4 separate regions of the Homo sapiens genome follow, and all the other regions are linked to region 4. Evidence: promoter capture Hi-C in 16 types of primary human blood cells and fetal thymus (Javierre and others, 2016). All regions are on one chromosome and are shown on one strand. The core of a region is centred on a gene start or on the middle of the fragment in contact, and the rest is flanking DNA. Distances in the headings are between cores, read along the strand shown.

The links. The method cuts DNA at HindIII sites, captures the fragments that hold promoters and counts their contacts. A CHiCAGO score of 5 or more calls a contact.
Region 1: a fragment that was not itself captured here is called in contact with the fragment with the promoter of TAF1C in region 4 in 2 of 17 cell types (total CD8 T cells and naive CD8 T cells); the score reaches 5.6 in total CD8 T cells.
Region 2: a fragment that was not itself captured here is called in contact with the fragment with the promoter of TAF1C in region 4 in 3 of 17 cell types (naive CD8 T cells, total CD4 T cells and total B cells); the score reaches 5.9 in naive CD8 T cells.
Region 3: a fragment that was not itself captured here is called in contact with the fragment with the promoter of TAF1C in region 4 in 2 of 17 cell types (fetal thymus and total CD8 T cells); the score reaches 6.5 in fetal thymus.

What each region holds. Positions count from the first base shown.
Region 1 is chr16:84,732,043-84,737,657 of GRCh38, reverse strand. USP10 (ubiquitin specific peptidase 10) reads right to left here. Exons shown (of 14, transcript NM_005153.3): 2 at 4,155-4,223. Among named protein-coding and RNA genes, the nearest start is that of USP10, 35 kb to the right of the region's middle. RefSeq lists enhancers at 296-1,261, 1,262-2,227. The HindIII fragment of the contact is 1,351 bases long and covers 3,105-4,455 here.
Region 2 is chr16:84,748,428-84,754,283 of GRCh38, reverse strand. All of the region lies in intron 4 of USP10 (ubiquitin specific peptidase 10), which reads right to left. Among named protein-coding and RNA genes, the nearest start is that of USP10, 51 kb to the right of the region's middle. RefSeq lists an enhancer at 1,993-2,072. The HindIII fragment of the contact is 5,744 bases long and covers 1-5,584 here.
Region 3 is chr16:84,700,659-84,706,675 of GRCh38, reverse strand. The region is part of intron 1 of USP10 (ubiquitin specific peptidase 10); the gene reads right to left. Among named protein-coding and RNA genes, the nearest start is that of USP10, 3.7 kb to the right of the region's middle. The HindIII fragment of the contact is 2,750 bases long and covers 2,654-5,403 here.
Region 4 is chr16:84,182,930-84,188,873 of GRCh38, reverse strand. It overlaps TAF1C (TATA-box binding protein associated factor, RNA polymerase I subunit C), which reads left to right and starts at 1,817. Exons shown (of 15, transcript NM_001243156.2): 1 at 1,817-1,973; 2 at 3,814-4,023; 3 at 5,096-5,177; 4 at 5,367-5,464; 5 at 5,541-5,630; 6 at 5,725-5,798. The coding sequence starts at 3,886. RefSeq lists a silencer at 1,622-1,831 and an enhancer at 1,477-1,977. The HindIII fragment of the contact is 17,434 bases long and covers 1,469-5,944 here.

The DNA of each region.
Region 1 (5,615 bases), core at 2,531-5,030, 550 kb before region 4:
GACGACCACCAGCAAACTCCCAGATGACACTGCCACCTTCAGTAAGCATGCTCAACACACTTACTTTGATTTGCTAAGCTGATAAAAGAGCGCACCTGCAGGAATGCCAGATGGGTTGTGGCACTGTGGAAATGTGTGTGTTTTATTCCACAGGCACACAGCACCTTTCATTCAGCAAACCTCCCTCACACATCAGATGCACTTAGTCTGTGGTAACTGGGTATCTAAATACACAACAGAATAAAAGTGCCAGGATGGTTCGAAGTTCACTCATTAACTATATAACTATTTGTAAGAATACAAAGTTCAAAAATCAAAGCAAAGACATAAAATTCCCTAGACAAATGCAAAGTGAGCAAGGGAAAAAACTGTCATCTATTAATAGTTATGCTAAACGCACAGTGTGAAAACAGTGCTGCGGCCTTGTGAAAAGGATACCTGGGCCCGTGGCTATAGGAAGGTCATGTTCTGAAGTCTCCCTCTGGGCTACCTGTGTGTTCTGCTTTCCGTCTCAAAGACTCTCCTGAACCACAAAGCCCTCCTTTAAAATCCCATTAAGATACCAAATTAGGCCGGGCGTGGTGGCTCACGCCTGTAATCCCAGCACTTTGGGAAGCCGAGGCGGGCAGACCACGAGGTCAGGAGATCAAGACCATCCTGGCTAACCCGGTGAAACCCCGCCTCTACTAAAACCACAAAAAATTAGCCGGGCGAGGTGGCGGACGCCTGTAGTCCCAGCTACTCGGGAGGCTGAGGCAGGAGAATGGTGTGAACCCGGGAGGCGGAGCTTGCAGTGAGCCGAGATCACGCCCCTGCAGTCCAGCCTGGGCGAGAGAGCGAGACTCCCTCTCAAAAAAGAAAACACACCAAATTAAGAACTGTCTCTACTCTCTACTCTCCATGAGTACCCACACACACCCACACCACACACACTGCCCACTGCCAACACTATGTCATCGGGGGCTTATTGACTCAGTCATGGTTGGGATGTGTGCTACTTCCAAAGCTGAGATTCTGGAAACTAAAGAATGGTGAGCATTTTCTCTTTCTTTCTGAACATAAATAACAGGATTACGACTGAGGTTTAAACATGCTTATTAAATAAGGTGACTGCATTTTTTCCACTGGAGAAAATAATTTTTAAATCACTGGAGCACAACTCTAGAAAAGATGCCAGCTACCTTTCACCTGAATTCGTTTCTCCTGATGCCACTAAATTACTAGCCACCTTATCTTGCCAGTGGCAAGCTGCCAAGCAAGCAAACTAAAAGACAAAGCAGCCCTCCGCTGGCAGGAGGCGCTTCTGCAGGAAGGCAGAATGCTCTTTCATCTTAACATCCCACATTTCTTAATTTTGGTTTTTCAATTCATGGCCCCAAGTAGAGAAAACAATATTTTATCAAGCTCCTAACAACGGAGAAAAAGCATATGAAAAATTCGACTAGATTGTAACTCATGCCACAGCCACATGGTAGAAACACTGCATGTTTGAGCGGCAATTATGTTACCTGAGAGATAAAAGGCCAAACTGTGCTGTAGAAGTGACACGCCCTCCCCTCGCCACTCACACACCCACAGGTCCAAGTGACACGCCCTCGCCACTCACACACCCACAGGTCCAAGTGACACGCCCTCGCCACTCACACACCCACAGGTCCAAGTGACACGCCCTCGCCACTCACACACCCACAGGCCCAACCACATGCCGCCCCATGAAAGTGAGTTCCTGTGTAATCATGTGCTATTATAATTCAGATTCCTGAAGATTGGGGAAAACAACTCCATCCGATTATGTTAATTAGCCTGCATTTCCCTTTTGCAGGTTACTGTGATTTTGATAAACTCTTTTTATACCCCTCCAAACTTCACCGTATGTTAAAAAATAAGAAAAACAGAAAAGCCCAAATAAGCCCACACACACTACGAGTTCTGAAGCTTGAGCTCATTTTCATGAGACACAGTCACGTCTTCTGTGAATAAAAGGTTTGGCATAACTTACCATCTGTACCCTTTTCATCCATTTCTACTAACATCTGTTACTCACTAGTTATCGGACCATACATTAGCTGATTTCCCAACATTTCTGTGACGTGAATAAGCATTCTGCATTTTTTCAATTTAAAAAACAAAAGAAAGAGAAAAGAAATGGGAGGCCCAAAAGGAAAGAACGTGCCCAAACCCTCCGAGCCTGTGGAAGTGGCAGAACTGAAGCGACCCCAGGCCTTCAGACTTGAAATACGGTGCACTTTTCACTTTCCTATCACATGAAAACTCAAGTTTTTGTCTACTCACTTGCAAACAGGTACCCACCCATCCACATGTGTACACACTTGAGAAAACCTGTAGCAACTAAAACGTATGGTTACATCAGTGTGATGTGGGAAAAAATACAAAATCCCCTTACTTAAAAACACACACACCACACACACACACACACACACACACACACACACACACACACCACCCGGGCCTGGCAGCACACACCTGTAATCCCAGCTATTCAGGGGCTGAAGCATGAGAACCCCCCTGAGGCGGGGCGGGGGGTCAAAGTTGCAGTGAATTGTGATTGCACTCTGCACTCCAGCCTGGGCAGAGTGAGACCCTGTCTCGAAAAAAAGAAAAGAAAAGAAAAAATAGAAATAAAAAAATAAAATAAAACGTGTGGTGTTTATACAGAGATAAGCAATAGGCCCACAGAATAGCACACTCGGAACCAGGGGAGATGCACTGCCCAACGGGGCTGACAGGACAGCTAAGGGCCGAGTTCCCAATGAATGGTGAGGAGGCACCTGCCAGGGCCACAGGGGCAGGGAGTTCGATGCCACCTCACACATATACAAAATTCAGTGCCTCAATTTCAGCTTATTACACACTGAAGCGTGAAAACAAAATCTGAAAACTTTTAGAAGAAAACAGACAAATATCTTCGTTATCTAAAGGATGGGAAGAATTTCCTAAAGATATTTTTAAAACTAAAAATCCACAAACTATAAGGAAAAAAAAATCAATTCAGTTGACATTAAAGTTGAAAGTGTACTCCTCTTATCCAACAACAACAACAAAAAAACCCAACCCCAAAAAGGGTTCACCTAACATGTGAAGCTTAAAGCCCTCATGCTAGGAACAGATGCCTGTAAAACCAAAGATTAATCCTAAAATCAGTAAGAAAAAGACAAGCTACTTGATTTAAAAATATGGACAAGGGATATAAACCAAGTAATTCACAGCAGAGGACATCCGTATTGCCAGCAGACGTGAAGAGAATGAAATAGTACCCAGCTGTTTGTAATCTGGGAGATGTAAATTAAAACAATGAGAGTCCATTTACTACACACATCAGATTCACAAAATTTTAAATATGCCAACACCAAGAGTTAGCAAGATTTTTTTTTTAATACGAGCAAGAAAACTCCCATGCACTGCTGATGGGAATGAAGACTGTTAAAATCCTAGATAGCAAACGAGCAGTCTCTAGTGAAACTAAAGAGGCTCGGTCCACAGAACCCAGTAATTCCATTCCCAGGTCTGTGTCCCGGAGGAGCCCACAGAGGGGCACCAGGAGACATGATAAAATACATTGAGTGCAATATTTTTAACGGCTGAACTAGAGACCTAAATGGCCCTCGACAGGAAAATATGTAAGTAAATTGCAGTGTGTTCAATCAGTGGTACTGAGCACTGGAAATCAAAGAACAAGGACAAATTTCTTAGCATAAAGAATACAACGTTAGCTTAAAATAAACGACAAACTGAATATAGTATACCATTTACGTGACACTTTAAAGCACATAAAACACTACGATTGACTATGGTGATATACACGTATATGATAAAAGGTGAAAACCAGTCAGGACCAATATTTCCCAATTTCAGCAGAGTAGTTACTTCTGGGGAGAGATGGGAGAGAGGTCCAAAGGAGGCTTCAGTTGCATCTGTAATGTTTTATTTGCTTTTCAAAGCCTAATAAAGTAAATACAGCAAAATGTCAAATCAAATGTCAGTCAAATCTAGTTGGTGGGTTGAGGCATTTCTCATATTAGTCTCCATACTTTTCTCTACATTGGAATTCTTTATTTAAAAAAACAAATTAAAATAGAAACATAACTATTAATTGTATCTACCCACGGACTCACTAAAACAAAGTTTTGTCTTACCTCAACTGAAGATCGAGGAGTCACAAAGAATTGATTGAATTCATCAGGGCTAAAATCTCCAAAAATATACTGAAAAAAAATAAGAGAGTCACTGATCACATAAAATATACAAATTATATACTTTCAGAAAAAATGCTACATATTTTAACAATCCTATGCAACATTTGGGCCATAACCCCCAAGATCCTTTCTCAATTAAACAGAGGATCTGCAACTCAGAGTTCTAGGTTGTTTATATAAAAGAAATACTACTGAACCTTTCCTACAAATTGTCAAAGAACACTATGAAACTGATAAAGCTTATTTTGAAACAAATCAATTTTGTATGCCAAACTTGTCGAGTCCTGCTTGCAGGAGATTTTTATTGGTTCACAAATACTGCCAGTTGTTCCATTTACCTTTCTGCTGACTCATGCCACTACCTCCATTTCCGCTTTCTCTGCCAAACATACTAAAGAAAAGCAGAAAACGTGGTTCAAATGGGAAGACAAGGAAATCCAAAAAAGGAAAATGTTAATGATCCTGATTAATGATCTTTAAAAATATCTATATAACTTCTTAGTTTAAAAATGCATTTCCATAGGATACACAGATACACATATTATCAGACAGACACAGCCCTTGTTGCAAGCCTGATTTCACGGAATTCAGAATGTGATTTTCTGGAAAACGAAGTGGTTAAACTGCACGGATGTGAGTCTGGCAAGTGCCTACCAGTTCATATTCTCCATGGAGCTTCAAGAAACAAGTCATTGAGGCCTGGCGCAGTAGCTCACGCCTATAATCCCAGCACTCTGGGAGGCTGACATGGGCGAATCACTTAAGGTCAGGAATTCGAGACCAGCCTGGCCAACATGGTGAAACCCCCATCTTTACTAAAAATACAAAAATTAGCCAGGCGTGGTGGCGTGTACCTGTAGTCCCGGCTGCTCGGGAGGCTGAGCCAGGAGAATTGCTTGAACCAGGGAGGCCGAGGTTGCAGTGAGCTGAGATCGCGCCACCGCACCCCAGCCGGGGCGACAGAGCCAGACTCCATCTCAAAAAGAAAAAAAAAAAAAAGAAGAAGAAGAAGTCATTGAGAAGAATTAGCAATTTCCACAACGGAGAAGCAATGATTCATTCATTTAATCAATAATTATTTAGAACCTACAAATGCCCACGTATGATCAGTACTGGGTATAAAAATGGTAAGCAGAGTGTGGTTCCTCTGTTCTAATGGAACTAAACAGTCTAGTAGCTTCCAGGGAAATTTACAAGCCAAGTGATTCAAAAATAACCAGTAACTAAATATTACATAAATGAATAATACTCATTATTATTGTAAATGTGAATAAATGGCCACTAAATGTAATACCCTCCTGGTAAGAATGCACAGGGAAAACGTTTCTGGAGAGCTCTTTGACAACATCTACCAAAACTATAAATATACATTAAGAACAAAAAAGTTTTCATATAATATTT
Region 2 (5,856 bases), core at 1,463-3,962, 560 kb before region 4:
AAGTCTTTCATAAACTAAAATACCGTATCATTCTGTTATTAATCTCTTATAATGATCCTAAATCCTAATCTCAGAGTAAGACCGACAGAAGGCACTCAAGATTCTCCACACTGTCTCCACAGTAGCTGACCTCATCACTGCCTACCTGATATTAGTGCTGTGTGCCTCCTTCTCTGGACAGGAGGCTCCTTAAAGACAAGACTCTCACACTTCAACTGCTCAACAAAGTCCGCACCATCTAAGGTAACAGGACTTGGTGGCCTTTTGTGTCCTCAGCCTGTTACTGCCATCCCTACTAGCTGCATGAGGCCTCCCCTCCTTGCTTTCTCCCCTCAACACCCCTCTGCCAATGATCACTTCTCCCTACAAACAGCTGCCATCTGTTCCTTTCTGATCTTATGCCTTAGACTACCCTGAAGGCAAGGCCAATCATTACTCCAACTAGACAGTGCATGGCATACAGTAAGTTCTCATTAGACAGTAATACAGGATCAATTAAACATCTGGAGATTAAAGTTGTTGGTTACGGCAAATGACTCCACTCATATTTGTTAGAAATGACTCAACAGACTTTAAAGGTCATTTAGCTCCTGGTCCAGAAAGTCTAAATGACAGCTCCTGAGAAGACGCACAGTAAAGGGCAAGGGCCCAGGCACACAAACCAGGAAGACGGGGGTTCGCGCCCTGGCTCTGCCACTTCATTCATTGTGCGGCAGATCACTCCGCACCTGGAACAGGTAAGGAGCTGCACCACGCTCAGCTATAGCAAAGATGAGCACGCATGTAAATACATAAGCAGACCACTCCCGGCATGACGGCCAGCTCAATACAGACATCAGAATCCCCCCTAGAAAATAAAGAGCTAATAGAGGTGGAAGGAGAAGGGAAAAGCAAATGAATTTATGTGAGAGTCTGAGAAAACCAACAACTTTCAGCATCCCAAGAGGAAATGTTAGCCCAACTTCCTTAAAATCTTGACAAGTTTTAAACATCTTGACATATTAAAGATATATTAATAAAGTTCTATTTCAGGCAACACTTTGGGAGGCTATGGCAGGAAGATCACTTGAGTCCAGGAGTTCCAAGATCAGCCTGGGCCACACAGTGAGACTCTGTTGCTATGAAAAATAAAAAATAAAAAATAAAAAAATTAGCTGTACATGGTGGTGCCTGCCTATAGTCCCAACTACTCAGGAAGCTGGGGCAGGAAGACCACCTGCGCCTGAGAGATCAAGGCTGCAGTGAGCTATGATCATGCCACAGCACTCCAGCCTGAATGAATGAGCAAGACCCTGTTTCTTAAGAAAAAAAAAATACGTTTTTAAAAAATAAAGCTCCATTTTAAGAGGAATGATTGTAAGAAATGAAGATTAAATACTTATTGTCAAAGATTTTCTCTTAAGATCCAAACACTCAAGAAACATTTAAGGTCCACTTTTGTAACATCTCACACGTACACTAAGCCTTCCATCCTGACTCATTTCGATAACCATCAACTGGAGGAGACACTAACGCTTTATGAAGTTCGTGAGCTCCTCTTCTTCCTCGCAGTGAAAAAAACAGGGGTGCAAAAGCAGTTCTAATTCCTCCTAAGACCAGACCGAATTATGTTCAAGTGAATGAATCCTATTGTTATCATGCAAAAGTCAGGTCTTACGGACAAGCCAGAACTAATACCACTTCCAAATTTCTAATATCACTCTTCGCTCTATTTAAATTCCTCTTTCAACATCAACATTTTCATTTACAATGTTATTCCTAGCCTAAAGTCCAATACGCATTCCAATTATGGAGGCTAAAAGAATAAAAATGAGGAAGGCGGGCCACCAAGGATAGAGGGCAGGCAACTTCTAGGTTGAAACTTGACCTGCATTCCAAAGTCATTGCCATTGGTGTATCTATTTTACCTTCTTTAAGGGCATATAATAGAAGTTGGCTCTAATAACAAACTTTCCCCAGAAGCCTTCTTTTCAATTCATCATGGTTGGTATAATTTACTACTTAACTGTTCAGACAGCAACTTTAGGAAGATGGCCTCCCCCAGTCCATCTTTGTCACAGGAGTTGGTGGGGCTGCCTAGAACAATGTGTGAGAAAAGGCACAAAATGCCAGAATGACTCATAAAAGACACAAAATTGAAACCTGTAGTTCACTTTTGTAATAACTCACATGAAAAGGCTGAACTGAAATTTCACTCTTATGAAATCTGCTGACATACAGAAAAATGGAGTTGCTTAATAGCCTTTTTTCAAATTTTAAGACATACATGCTAGATGGTAGCTCACAAGGGCTGCCACAAATCAGCCCACTGAAATTGTTTATCAACTCAAAGGCAATACCAGCATCGTAAACTTTTATGTCATCATAAGCTATGATTATTCTTACACATATTTTACACATCAAATTCTGTTTTCCTAAAATTAGGACTTAGGGGTCATATTAACATTGAAAATCCCTGAAAATGCAAGGTACAGAACTCTGATTCTTAGGGCTCAATAACTGGCCCGTAATCGACATTCTGGTGTTGTTGACCTGCTTTTCTGTCATCATTCTAACTGTCCAGAACATTCTCCAAGTGCTTTTCTTTTCCTCATTACCATCAATTTGGAAGAACACACACTATCTTGGTTATCTAACCAGGTGGAGGACAGCAAAGTGACCAAAATGTACCACTACCCATTGACTACAGATCAACTTATGTTTCTGAAGTGGAAAGATGTATAATAAATGTGAGGCTACAAACATCGAATCAGATGTGGACTAAACTCTCAGTCCACAAGGGTGGATCCCGGTAAACAGGTGCCACGCCTTTTTAACTTAGATCACGCCGCATGACCACTGCCTGTGTACTTCAGAGTTTGAAGAGGAAGTGCAAAATATCTGAGAAACCATTTCCCCCAAGGAGCGGGGGGAAATATATGCATGATTTATAAACTGCCAAAATAAAGATCAGTTTTAGGATACACAGCCATGCTTAATGATGGGGATATGTTCTGAGAAATGTGGCATTAGGCAATTTTGTCATTGTGGGATCACATGCCTAGATGGTATAGCCAACTACACACCTGGGCCATATGCTAGAGCCTATTGCTCCTAAGCTACAAACCCGTACAGCATGTTGTGTACTGAATACCGTAGGCAACTGTAACACAACTCACTGGTCACTAGAAATTGTTTAGCTCCATTATAATCTTATGGGACCACTGTCGTACATGCGGTCTGTTGTTGACTGAAACATCATTAAAGCAGCACATAACTGTATGTTCATTTACACTTAAATAAACACGGACAGGGTAATTCATTAGAGAAGACCCAAATTGTAATAACTTTGTTTCTTGATCCAATGCCTTTTAGGTATAAAACCACTGTGAAAAATCATATAAACAGGTTTTGACTAACAATTCATAATAAATGACATTGCTAGATACCTCAACGCAATGTTTTCAGAGCTGTTCAAGAGCTCAGTTTTCCTAGTTCTCTCTCACTGGAATTTTAACTTATCGGGCAGTTGGCCACTCTTCTTACCCAGCATTATTTATATTCTGTTAAAACAAAATATACTGTTGCATAATTTTGAAAGCAAAACATCAAATACAAAATGGCTCTATTTGTGATGTGAAAGCATCTGATACAATTTCGTCTAGTATATGAGGAATGTTCCTTAGTAAAGACCCAGGAAAAGTACAATGTTCAATGAAAGCATACGTTCAATTTCAAACGTCACATGTTCGTCAACTCCAAAGTATCTGTGCTAATGAGGGAAGCAGCAGCAAAGGCACTCCCCACGTGTCTGCCATACTCACTCTTAACAAGGGTGTCGCGTTTTGCAACTACTTTCAAACACAAGCTATTAAGTTTTGGGTTTTTTTTTTTTTTTTTGAGACAGTCTCACTCTGTGGCCCAGGCTGGAGTGCAGTGGCACGATCTGGGCTCACTGAACCTCCACCTCCCCGGTTCAAGCTATTCTCCTGACACAGCCTCCTCAGTAGCTAGGATTACAGCCATGAGCCACCACGTCCATCTAATTTTTTTATTTTTAGTAAAGATGGGATTTCCCTATGTTGGCCAGGCTGGTCTTGAACTCCTGGCCTCAAGGGATCCACCCACCTCAACCTCCGAAAGTGCTGGGATTACAGGCGTGAGCCACTGTGCCGGGCTGTATTAAGTTTCCTTTTGTTGACTCCTACTGATAAATGGCAACCATCTCCTCTCAGACCAGTCACTGAAACACAGATCCCTCTCCAACCCTCGGCAAGACAGGGCTTTTGTGTTTAGATACATCCTTCCCTTGGGGCTAAAGGAAATCACTGAGTATTCAGTTCACACGCTCTCCCCTGGCGTGTCCTTCTCCTTTCAAATAACAGTTCACACTTGAAAAACAGCCAATGGAACAAAATGTTGACACATAACCTACACCGAGGAGATGGCCTTGCCACCAAGAAGGTCCAAGTAGAACCCGTTAAAGTGGATAGTTTAAGAGTAATCAAGAGTTTAATGTATTTCACTTCAAAATCCCTTATACGTGATTCTTTTAGTCCATCTGCCTTCTTAATTTCACTTCTGATGGCATAAAAACTAGCTGGCATTTATTAAGCAGACTTAACAATAGGGGAAATAGTCCAGAAATGTGAGTATTTGAAACAAACTTGAGATAAAAAATACACAAATTATTCCAAGCATTTTGTGTGTGTATAATTTTTTTTTTTTTTAAAGATGGGGTCTCAGTATGTTGCCCAGGCTGGCCTCGAACTCCCGGGCTCAAGTTATCGAGCCTCAAGCCTCAATCTCCACACTATCATGCCTGGCAGAAAGGAATACATTTAATGTCTAAATCATTCCCTACTCCCTCTTTCCCAAAAGTTAATAACACAAATACCACTGTCTCAGTAGAAACAGTTAGATACTAATGCAAGTCAAACTCTATTATAACCCACATCAACAGATCTTTTAATGAAACTAGACTTTCACTCAGTTAAACGCTGCTTAAAATAAGTGGGCCTACACTTAAAAGTGTGCCCACTAAAGGGAATTTGTGGTAGTGGATCTGACTTGTAACAAACTGAGTATGTTTTACCACTTTTATAAAGTAAATCCCTAAGTAGGAGAATAAAACAACAAAAAAAATTTCAAACAATGCCATTCTCCCTAAGCCCTATATGATCCCAAGGGTTATTCAATGTGACTCTATTGCTCTACTATCTCACGAGACTCCTGAAACTGTCAACAACTACGTTCTGTCTATCGAAGCCTCAACAAACAGGCTGAAAAGAATTATATATTTTTAAAGAAACTACACTTTTGCTCAGAAAATTAAAACATCTTCATAACTGACCTAACCAAATAGGATTAAAAAAATAATCTGTTTGGTAGGGGTTTACAATATGTCCACACAAAAATAATTACGTGGACTGTGTGTGGCAAGGCTTTCCTCTACTACCAGTCATTAAGAGGCCCTTACTTTCAGTGTTTGACAAAGCTACTTCAATTAGACTTTAACATATACAGAACATAACAAACTATTTATCAAACTATATTTAAAGTCATATGACTAAGTAGAATGTTCTAAAACATTTTAAATGAAGCTTTTCTTGGTTATTTTAAATAAAGATAGAGAAAATCTCCCTAAGATGGGAGGTTTTCCTTTGTGGAGCAATTTTAGAAACGAAACTATAATATTCTCAGCTGGGCGCGGTGGCTCACGCCTGTAATCTCAGCACTTTGAGAGGCTGAGGCAGGAGGATCACTTGAGGTCAGGAGCTCAAGACCAGCCTGGCCAACATGGTGAAACTCGGTCTCTACTAAAAATACAAAAATTAGCCTGGCGTGGTGCCAGGCACCTGTAGTCCCAGCTACTAG
Region 3 (6,017 bases), core at 2,779-5,278, 520 kb before region 4:
CCAGCTACTCCGGAGGCTGAGGCAGGAGAATGGCGTGAACCCGGGAGGCGGAGCTTGCAGTGAGCCGAGATTGCGCCACTGCACTCCAGCCTGGGTGACAGAGGAAGACTTCGTCTCAAAAAATATATATATATAAAAATATATATAAATATAAAAATATAAATAAATATAAATACATATACAAATAAATACATATAAATATATATATAGTCTTTGCAGCCACGTAAGGGAAATTATTACTTAAAATACCAAGAGAAGGGGTATATAGGAACTCTTTGTACTTTTCTCTCAATTTTGCTGTGAACCTAAAACTGCTCTAAAAAATGAAGTATAAAAAAATTGTTTTAATGTATCAGAAGTTTTTTATATTGGGCAGGAATCTCGAAAACCTCTAGAATTGAACTTCATTTTCAAATCCTCTTCTATTTTTAACCAAAACTTCAACATGTCCTATCAAAAGTAAAAAGACTGATACTTGCAGAATGAATAGGGAGGCTAGGCGCGGTGGCTCACACCTGTAATCCCAGTACTTTAGGAAGCTGAAGCAGAAGGGATCCCTTGAGGCCAGGAGTTCAAGACCAGCCTGGGAAACACAGCAAATCCCTGTCTCTACAAAACAACAACAAATTGTTTTTTTCAAAGAATGAGTAGGGATGCTGGGGGCAGTGGCTCATGCCTGTAATCCCAGCACTTTGGGAGGCCAAGGTAGGTGGATCACCTGAGGTGAGGAGTTCCACACCAGCCTGACTAACATGGTGAAACCCCGTTTCTACTAAAAATACAAAAAAATTAGCTGGGCGTGGTAGCAGGCACCTGTAATCCCAGCTACTTGAGAGACTGAGGCAGGAGAATCGCTTGAATCTGGGAGGTAGAGGCTGCAGTGAACCCAGATCGCACCACTGCATTCCAGCCTGGGCAACAGAGCAAGACTGTCTCAAAAAAAAAAAAAAAAAAAAAAAAGCAAGCAAGGGCATGATTATGTCTGTACTCAACATACACAAATGGAAAGGAGCACATCTTCATAAAACAAAGACAAATGGGAAAACAAAAATCTAGCACCATCAGATCAGGAAGAAAGAAAGAGGGAAAGGGACGGAGGGAGGAGTCAGCTAGATGTAAAAATCAGGTTCAAAAGGCACAGGAGTGGCTGGGTGTGGTGGCTCACGCCTATAATCCCAGCACTTTGGGAGGCCGAGGTGGGCGGATCGTGAGGTCAGGAGATGGAGACCATCCTGGCTAACATGGTGAAACCCAGTCTCTACTAAAAATACAAACAATTAGCTGGGCATGGTGGCGGGTGCCTGTAGTCCCAGCTACTCAGGAGGCTGAGGCAGGAGAATCACTTGAACCCGGGAGGCAGAAGTTGCAGTGAGACAAGATACCGCCAATGCACTCCAGCCTGGGCGACAGAGCGAGACTCCGTCTCAAAAAAAAAAACAAACAAAAAAAACAAGGCACAGGAGTGGGGACACTCACCTTTTTATTAGGGATACTCTCACTTCAAAATGGACTGGTTTTGAGACTCCTGAGCCATAGAGTACAGGCTTAAGGAGATGTCCCTCCAGCTAATACCAGAAAAATAAACTGAGAATGGATCCGAAGAATGACAACCGATAAGGCTGTACACACAAGCCCAACGGGGAGGAGACTGAGGACTCTTAGGAGCAGCCACCATTACAGCGCAGACGGTAGCAGGTGCTGGGCCCGCACTCCACATGCACATTCTCCTAACAATTCTCATGTGAGCCCAAAAGGGAAAGTCGAGGAATTCAGGCTGTAACAGCCCCAAACCACATTTCTATCTCAACACCTTACCTGCCCTATTCCAGGAGAGGGCAACCAGGGCATGATGTTTCAAGACGGGACAGAATGGCAGTGCTGGTAGAGCTTCTGGGTTCTCAAGTCATCTGATGAAAATGGGATCATGGCCCAGGAGCTTTCAAATAGCCAGAAAATAGCCAGTTCAGAAAAAATCTAGGATCTGAAGATTCTACATCGAGGTTTATGATAAATTCTACATTTTCTGATCCTTGAAACAAATACTATACACATACCCCAAGGGCTACCTTTATTTTCCTACACTAATTCTTCATCCAGCCTGTATTGACAGAAATGGTCAAAGAAAGACCTTTTGGGAGAACACTTCAATAAACAGGAAAACTGCAGTCCAAGCACATACAAGTCTCTGGAAATGAACATCTACACTGCTGAAGTGGCACTAAAGTGACAAATGACAGTAATCCAATGGCCCAAGGCCAGCAAATTCCATTGCAAACAGATTTATCTGTTTTGTGCGATGGTGATTCTTGCATGTGTGGCAGTAAATAGAAAAGTAACAGCCTAATTACAAATTCAAAAGCAAGCTCTTCCCACTACGTTTCATATTTTGGTATAGTACCAGTAATAAGTGTCCTCAGCAACCACGTTTAATGTGCCACCTGAATACCAGGAACCATTAACAGGAAGTACCTACATGTCTGAAATTATATCTTTAAAAACAAACAAACAAACAAAAAACCGAAACAAAAACCCTGATGTAACTAATTCAATTGGAGATGATACCACTTTTCTCAATTACTTGAATGTTATATTCTGAGCACAGCACAGTGCAACGTGCCGCTTAGGCTTGGCATTAAACAGCAATCATTAAGCTTCGTAATCCTTTTCTCCTTTAAGTTTTCCTATGTGAATCACTGCTTAAATCCTATCAGTTCCACGTAACAGAACACTGGAATACATGTCCTAACTTTTGCTTTAGTGAGGAATTTAGAATGTGGTAGGCCCGCTTAGTATTCACTGGAATTTCAGTGCGCTGTGCTCTCAATGAGATGGGCTCAAGAGCATGATGGTGAGGTCCTGGTACGGCGCGGCTGCTCAGGCCATCTGTACAAACCACTAAGGCGACCACTGGCTCACAAACTTCTCAGGCCATCTGTACAAACCACTAAGGTGACCACTGGCTCACAAACTTAAAACATCTACTCTTAGGACATGTTTAAATAGCTTGCTGTCACTATGCAAAGGAAAACTGTTATCTCCAAATGCCCTGTCAACATTTCAAACAATTGTATTTACTTCAGCTGCTCATTACTTGAGATTCTAATAAAAATGTATCTCTTTTAAGAATTAACACTAATCCAGCTGTTGGCTAGAAACAGATATTCAGCAATACAGTAACATTCAGCCATATGCTAGAGGGGGAATCCAAGACTTTCCATCATGTAAAATGTGGAGGATCTGCTATTACAAGCTAAAAAAGAGACTGGGGTGAGTCTATGCAGAGACAAGGACAGAAGCCAACTGCATGACATTCAAATTGGGTGTAGGAAGCATTATTGTGGAGATTTCACTATAAATGACATCAATAATCACAAATATTTTTTCGGTGTAAGGCAAAACTAATAGCTTCAAATTAATTACCCCAAATAATTTAACCGGTCCCCTCAGTGACAAGGATATTCACTTGGACCTACACTTCAACTGTTAAAGTTCATTTATTTGTCTTTGCTAAAATGCTGAGTTACCGGTCTCAAAATGTTTCCAAATTCTTCACTATTACACTTCAATACAGGTAACAGGGATCAACCAACACTTTCTAATATTTGGAAATAAGGTTATTAACCTATAAACTTTTTTATTTATTTTGAGATGGAGTTTCGCTCTTTTTTTTTTTTTTTTTTTTGAGACGGGAGTCTTGCTCTGTCGCCCAGGCTGGAGTGCAGTGGCATGATCTCGGCTCACTGCAACCTCCGCCTCCCGGGTTCAAGCGATTCTCCTGCCTCAGCCTCCCAAGTACCTGGGACTACAGGCGAGCTTCACCACACTCGGCTAATTTTTGTATTTTTAGTAGAGACAGGGTCTCACTATATTGGTCAGGCTGATCTCGAACCCCTGACCTCAAGTGATCCACCCACCTGCGCCTCCCAAAGTGCTGGGATTACAGGCACGAGCCACCGCGCTGGCCTGTAAACATTTTTAAACTGTAACTTTTTCCACCTCCCATTATTCTCAGTGACAAATTTAACTTTAACAAGTCAATTTTAAAATAAGACCTTCAATTTGCAGTTGTTATTCCCAACATAAACAAGTAATATACATACCATGACGCTTAATATCTGATAAACAATCAGTATTTGCTGAATGAATGAATGGCCATTAAGGCTGCAAGACTCTTAGGACAGTAGGCAACCAAGTAAAACAAATTTATTAAAACGCTCAGAATGACTGGAGCAGGAACCAGTAACTAAATCCTGTCATACATGATTCCATTACTTGTTTGCATTACTATTCTTTTAAAATGAAAATTATGAGAAATCGGCCAGGCGCAGTAGTGGCTCACGCCTATAATCCCAGCACTTTGAGAGGCCGAGGCGGGTGGATCACCTGAGCTCAGGAGTTTGAGACCAGCCTGATCAACATGGTGAAACCCGTCTTTAATAAAAATACAAAAAATTAGCCAGGCATGGTGGTGGGCGCCTGTAATCCCAGCTACTTGGGAGGCTGAGGCAGGAGAATCGCTTGAACCCGGGAGGCAGAGGTTGCAGTGGGCCGAGATCATGCCACTGCACTCCAGCCTGGGCGACAGAGCAAGACTCCCGTCTCAAAAAAAAAAAAAAAAAAAAAAAAAAAAGAGCGAAACTCCATCTCAAAATAAATAAAAAAGTTTATAGGTTAATAACCACAGCACTCCAGCCTGGGCAACAAGAGCCAAATTCCAACTCAAAAAAAAAAAAAAAAAGAAGAAGAAAATTATGAGAAATCAAACTATTTCCTTTGCTACTTTCTCCATGCTAAAACTTAAAAGCATTTAAATCATACTTTAAAAGAATAAACCCAAAGTGTTGCTAACATTTACGTTCCGCCAACTTTTGCTACTCCAATTTTCTAAAGATGTGTATAACGCTTTAGACTGTTGTATAAAACGTAAATACTGGGACAATGAATGCAAACGAAATTACAATTAAGTTTACATATTATCCATCCCCATTAATTAACATTTCAATCAACCTTGAATTGTGATTGATGCTTATTAAATAAAGGAAGTGAGCTATGCCTAAAGATGCTTTCTTCATGTCAAAATCACAAGGAATATTACACATTAATTCATAATGAGCCTTTTACTTGTTCATACCAATTCTAATAAGCTAGTTAATTAGGATTTAAGTTGAGAAAAAAGCAAATATCAAATCTTTTTTTTTAACAGAAAGGTCTAAACAAAGCTAAATACACCAAATCTCTTAAAATCTTTGGGCTATACATTTGTAAAAATTATTCAACTACTGATCCCTTTTTTGGCGCAAAGACCTACACTACTTACAAAAGTAAATGAATAAGGGAACAAAACGTTAAAGGGGGAAATTCTGATGCAAACTAAACTACAGCTAATTTAACAAAATTGAAGCTTGTCGTAAGATCTAATTTTTTAAAAAGTTTTCGCATTTTAGATTCCACAACACGCATTCATTACAATAGTTCCGAAAATCATGTTTCAAAAGAGGTGTAGTCAGATTGACTTCATCTGCAGAAGGGCAACAAAACCCAATTGCTCATGAAGGGTTATGATTTTACTCGCAATCAGTTTCCCGAATGGCTACTTTGTTTCATTTCCCCATATTTAATACAAATACACAATGAGATGGTTTAAAAGTGTGCAACAATTTATAGGGACCAGATGTCAACAAATTAGCAGTCTAAAGCAAGGCTGACAAATAATACATCATGCCGATTTTTGTCCAGAATAATTATAATGGCGGAGGGGGGAGAAGATGTGAGAGAAGGGGTGGGAGAGGGGAATAAGAGCTTAACTCTACACGCACATCTCCCAAAAAGAGCTCTTTCTTTCCACCACGGGATTATTGTAAAGGGCCCCCAAGCTTTAGCTACTGTTCAGGCAGGGTGCGTTAGTTGTCAGCCTGGCTGGGATGGATTCGTGCAAGGGATGTCACTCAAACGCAAGTGAAAGTACGGTCCTTGCGACTTATTTCGAGTTTTCTTTGCAACAGCAGCCCAAGGCCGCT
Region 4 (5,944 bases), core at 568-3,067:
GAGGCCAAGGCGGGTGGATCACATGGTCAGGAGTTCAAGACCAGCCTGGCCAATATGGTGAAACCCCGTCCCTACTACAAATACAAAAATTAGCTGGGTGTGGTGGCAGGCACCTGTAGTCTCAGCTACTCGGGAGGCTGAGGCAGGAAAATCGTTTGAACCTGGAAGGTGGAGGTTGTAGTGAGCCAAGATCACGCCACTGCACTCCAGCCTGGGTGACAGAGTGAAACTCTGTCTCAAAATAAAAAAAAAAAAAGAAAATTAGCCAGGCATGGTGGTGCTTGCATGTAATCCCAGCTACTCGAGAGACTGAGGTGGGAGAATCATCTCAGCCTGGGAAGTTGAGGCTGCAATGAGCCATGATGGTACCACTGCACCCTAGCCTGGGCGACAGAGTGAGACCCTGTCTCAAAAAAATAAATAAAACAAATAAAATAGGGAGATTATCCTGGATTACCTGGGCGGGCCTACTATAATCACATGGGTCCTTACATGGGAAAGAGGGAGACAGAAGAGTAAAAACCAGAGAGATGGCCTCATGAGAAGAATCCGACTGGCATTGCTGGCTTTGAAGATGGAAAGGGGTCATGAGCCAAGGAATGCAGGCAGCTTCCAGAAGCCAGAAAAGACAAGATAGTGGACTCTTCCTTAGAGCCTCTCAAAAGGAACACAGCCCTGCTGGCACTTTTAGTCCAGGTAAAAACTTCCAGATAAAAACAATATAGGCCAGGCGTGGTGGCTCATCCTGTAATCCCAGCAATTTGGGAGGCCTAGGCAGGCGGATCACTTGAGGTCAGGAGTTCAAGACTCAGCCTGACCAACATGGTGAAACCCCGTCTCTACTAAAAATACAAAAATTAGCCGGGCATGGTGGCGCAGGCCTGTAATCCCAGCTACTCGGGAGGCTGAGGCAGAAGAATTGCTTGAACCCAAGAGGCGGAGGTTGCAGTGTGCCAAGATCGTGCCACTGCACTCTAGCCTCCATCTCAAAAAAATAAATAAAGACATAGATGACAGCTGAGAATTTGGAAATTGATTCTTTAAAGCAACGGTTCTCAAAGTATGGCCCCTGGACCAGCATCATCTGGGAACTTGCTAGAAATGCAGACTCTTGGGCCACATCCCAGATCTACTGAATCAGCAACTCGGGGGGCAGAGGTAGGGTGGAGCCTAGCAAACTTGTAACAAGCCCCCCAGGTGGTTCTAAGGCTCACTGAAGTTTGAGAAGTACTATGTTAGGATAACGGTAAGGTTCATGACTGGACAGTGGTTCTTAAAGCATGGCCCCCAGATAAGCAGTTTCAGCATCACCTGGGAACTTAGGCAAATCATCAGGTCCCACCCCAGACTCACCGAATTGGAGACTGTGTTTTAACTAGCCCCCCAGGTGCTACTGCTGACGCACGCTAGCTAGAGTTTGAAGACCACTGCCTAAAGCTCTCCCTGCCTGACCACCCCTGGAAAAGCTTCACTCTTAGTAGGTATTTGTACCCTTATTTGTAAAGCCCGCTTCTTGGGATTTAAGGACAATCAGTAGGATACCTACTGACCAATACAGGTCTGGCTTATAGTAGGTGTTCTGTGGGAGTTCGTTAAATGATTAATTTAATACAACTCTGAGGAAATTGGTGAAGTAGATGTGGGATTCGAACCTAAGTCCACCCGGCCTCCACTATTGGGACTCAAGGGAGCTTTATTTCCGCTGCCCACGCGCCGCCTGCACGCCCGTTCCCTCTCCTCCCGGGAGGGGGCGCGCCAGGACCCTAAGAGGCCTGGCTGGGAGGCGGGACTTCCTGCCTCCGCAGGAGGCACTTCCGGTCCAAACCGGAAGACCGTGGGTAGCTGCGGCGGGGCTGACCCGTCCCGAGTGCCAAAGCTGGGGTTCTACTTGAGATTTCCCTCGTGGTGCCAGGGTCCGGCGAGCATCACGCCGAGGCCCATTTTCCAGACGACCACGACGAGGCCGGGGTCACGTAAGTGCACGCATGCGCCCCCTCCGCGCGGACTGCGCGTGTTCGAGGAGCGGACCCGCAGATGTAGGAGGGGAGGGACGCCCCCAATCCCCAGTCCCCGCGGCAGGCTCACGTTTCGCAGTCCCCGGCCTGTCGTTATTGCGGATCCGACTGAGTTCTGTAGCCTTGGAGGTCTAAAGGGTCCTGGAGAGCCCGCAGCGAGGGCGGGAAGCCGGCCGGGGAAGTCGAGGCTGCCTTGTCTGAGGGCTTTTGTGGGGTCGTGCTCTCCACCAGCGCCCTCCGCCTGTCTAGGATCGTTTCAGGCTATGCGGTTCCAAGAGAAAATATTTTTGTTTCTATTTTATTTTTGAGATAGAACCTTGCTCTGTCACCCAGGCTGGAGTGCTGTGGCATGATCTTGGCTCACTGCAACCTCTGCCTCCCAGATTCAAGCGATTTTCGTGCCCAGCCTCCTCGGTAGTTGCGATTACAGGTGTACACCACCACGCCCGGCTAATTTTTGTATTTTTAGTATTGACAGGGTTTCACTGTATTGGCCGGACTGGTCTCAAACTTCTGGCCTCAGGTGATCCGCCCGCCTTGGCCTCCCAAAGTGCTGGGATTGCAGGCGGGAGCCACCGCACCCGGCCAAAGGGAAAAGATTTTTGTATAGCGAGACTCTAATGCTAGCGTTTGCATTTCGGTGCATGCGAGAGCACTGGTTCGGAGCTCTGCCTCTGAATCGGATGGGAATCAAGTCTTGGCTGTGGCAGCTAAGAGCTGTTGGACTAAAGTTCTTGCTGAGCCTTCGTTTCCTGAACTCTGTTAACAGGGACGGCGATAGAAGAGTGCAGCATTTAGCATGTGCCTGGCAGATAGATGCTGGCGCTTGGTCAGCGAGCGCTGCTGTTATTTTTGCCCCTGTTATTTTTGTTAATTAAAAAGGAGGGATGCTATGGCTGCTCATACTTCTAGAGGACTGTATTTACCAAAGCCTTGTGATGTAATTTTTTTTTTTCTTGAGATGGAGTTTCGCTCTTGTTGCCCAGGCTACAGTGCAATGGCGCGATCTCAGCTCACCGCAACCTCCGCCTCCCGGCTTCAAGGAATTCTCCTGCCTCAGCCTCCCGAGTAGCTGGGATTACAGGCATGCGTCACCACGCCCGGCTAATTTTGTATTTTTAGTAGAGACCGGGTTTCTCCACATTGGTCAGGCCAGTCTCGAACTCCCGACCTCAGGTGATCCGCCTGCCTCGGCCTCCCAAAGTACTAGGATTACCGGCGTGAGCCACCGCGCCCGGCCCCTTGTGATAGAAATTTATTTTTTTCAACCCCTAGTGCATTTTCTGGGAGGCACTGTGCTTGACAGTAGGAAGACGATGCTCAGATGCAGTCCCTGGCTGTGGAGTAACTTGAGCGTCTTGGGGGTGTAGTCTGTAAATGTATGATGACGGTACTTACGAGCCGGGAGAGAGGCTGCCCCTTGCCGTCTTTCTGACTCCATCTCCACCGCTCTCCACCTCGCTCACTCTGGCTGCCTCATTTTCTCACACACTTCACTGCTCTAGGATTTTCACAGTTGTTGACCGTTCGGCCTGGAACCCTCTTCCCAGTTGCGTACATGGTTCTCTCCTTCACTAGGTTCAGGCTGTGCTCAAACGCCACCTTCTCAACGAGGCTTTTCCTGGCTGGCTTTGCTGAAACCACGCCCTCAGCCCACTACCAGATCCCCTTCTCCTGGACGGGTGGTTGGCTTTAATACAGTTCTCACTACTGCTTGGCCTTGGGCTACATATTTGTTTTTTGTTATCTGCTTCCTCAAAGAACATATGCTTCCCGTAGTGCACTTTTCACTCCTCAGGAACTCTGGCGCCCCTTACCAGCTTCCAGTCTCTCGAGGTGGCCAGTGTGGTGCTTGGTCCTTGTTTCCAGGATGGACTTCCCCAGCTCCCTCCGCCCTGCATTGTTTCTGACCGGCCCCCTTGGTCTGAGCGACGTCCCTGACCTCTCTTTCATGTGCAGCTGGCGAGACGCACTGACTCTGCCAGAGGCCCAGCCCCAGAACTCAGAGGTGAGGATGCAGGCAGGGGGCCCTGGCAGCTCCAGGGACATCCCTTCCCTGGGTCCCCCGTCTCACATTCACATCAGTTGACAAGGCCACAGAGTGGTGGCATTCACACGAGTCTGCTGAGACACAGGCTCTGCCACCTCCTCTGGGGTACATGGGCTACCCTGCCATCCCTAGACGGATGCCCCCACTATGCCGGGTCCCTTATGAGACCGTGAGAATGCTGCCTGAATCAGTCGGTTGACCCCTCCCTTCCTGGAACGGAGAGCTGAGTTGAGCGAGAATAAACAAGTGAACTTTATCCAATGGATAAGGTGTTTACAAAATGTGATCAGAGCTTGGAATGAAAGCAGAAGGATGCTGAAACAGCATAGTAGGGTTGGGAGAGGGGAGGATAGACCTGCAGGGTTTCTGCTGCCTCTGGAGGGACACTGGCCCTTTGCTTGGAATCCTCAGCCGCCTAGTTCCCCTTGGAAACACCCTGTCTGGGAATGAAGCCTGGCAGAGGCAAGTGGGTGAGCAAATAAAAAGAGAGACAGTGGAGCAGAGGCTTGGGGAACGGGGGTCAGGGATGGCATCCTTACGAGGGAGGGTCTGGCGTCAAATTGGGGCTCCTCTGGGAGTCTGGTTTCCTAGCTCTTTTGTCCCCTGAATGTCTGGGCCGAAACATCCCAGGCCAGCCCAGCAAAGGGAGGTGGAGCCGCCTGCCGGGCTCCCAGAGTGACTGCAAGGTCTCCTGAATGGAAGTGAGGTTACGTGAGATGTGGACCAGCCACTGGTGGCATGAGGGGCTTCCTTCTTTGAGAGCCAGCACAGGTGGAGGTCGGAAACAGGAGCTCTGGGGTCAGGCTGCCTGGGTTCACATCCCAGCTCTTCTCTTTACCGGCTCTGTCTTCTGGGGCAAATGGCAGTGTGCCTCAGTTTCTTCAGCAGTAAAATGACAATGCCAGTCATCCCAGCTTCGCAGGATTGTTGTGAGGATTGGATGAGTTGATAAGAGATGAATGCCTGTGCACAGCCTGGCCCAGGGAGGGCATTCATCATGATACTGTCCTTGCGATTGTCCTCCCTTCAGAATGGGGCACTGCATGTGACCAAGGACCTGCTGTGGGAGCCGGCAACCCCTGGGCCTCTCCCCATGCTGCCTCCCCTCATCGGTAAGGGTCTCATTCCCCCGGGCTCACTCCACACTGCTCCACCTATTCTTCCCACTGCTCCCGCTCCTGAGACCTTCCTCTCCCTGCTAAGCCTGTGCCTGCTCAGGACCCTTGGATACCTCCAGTCGCCCAGGGCATCTGGCCGCACTCCTGTGCCCTCCCCAGCCCTTTCCGTAACCTCCTTCTCAGATCCCTGGGACCCTGGCCTGACTGCCCGGGACCTGCTTTTCCGCGGAGGGTGCCGGTATCGGAAGCGGCCCCGAGTCGTGCTGGATGTGACTGAGCAGGTGAGTGGGCCCACGGGGGACAGTGCTGCGTAGCCTGGAGACTGTGCTTAGTGACCTGGCCTCCTCTTCTCCCCAGATCAGCCGGTTCCTCTTGGATCATGGAGACGTAGCCTTTGCGCCCCTGGGGAAGCTGATGCTGGAGAATTTCAAGCTGGAGGGAGCGGGGGTGAGTGGCCCGTGACTCCAGGGGTGGGGACTCCCTGCTGTCCTTCAGGGGTGAACTCGAGGGTGTGTGAGCCTGACAAGGCCTTTCCATGCAGAGCCGCACTAAGAAGAAGACAGTGGTCAGTGTGAAGAAGCTGCTCCAGGACCTCGGTGGACACCAGCCCTGGGGGCAAGTGGCTGATGAGAAAGGAGGAGATGGATAGGCATAGCTGGTGGTGGGGATGTAGGAGGTGCTAGGACGCACGTACAGCTTTCCGTCATACCCACTTCCCCCCTGCTCCATGCAGTCTGAGCTGTACTTTCTTATACCAGACT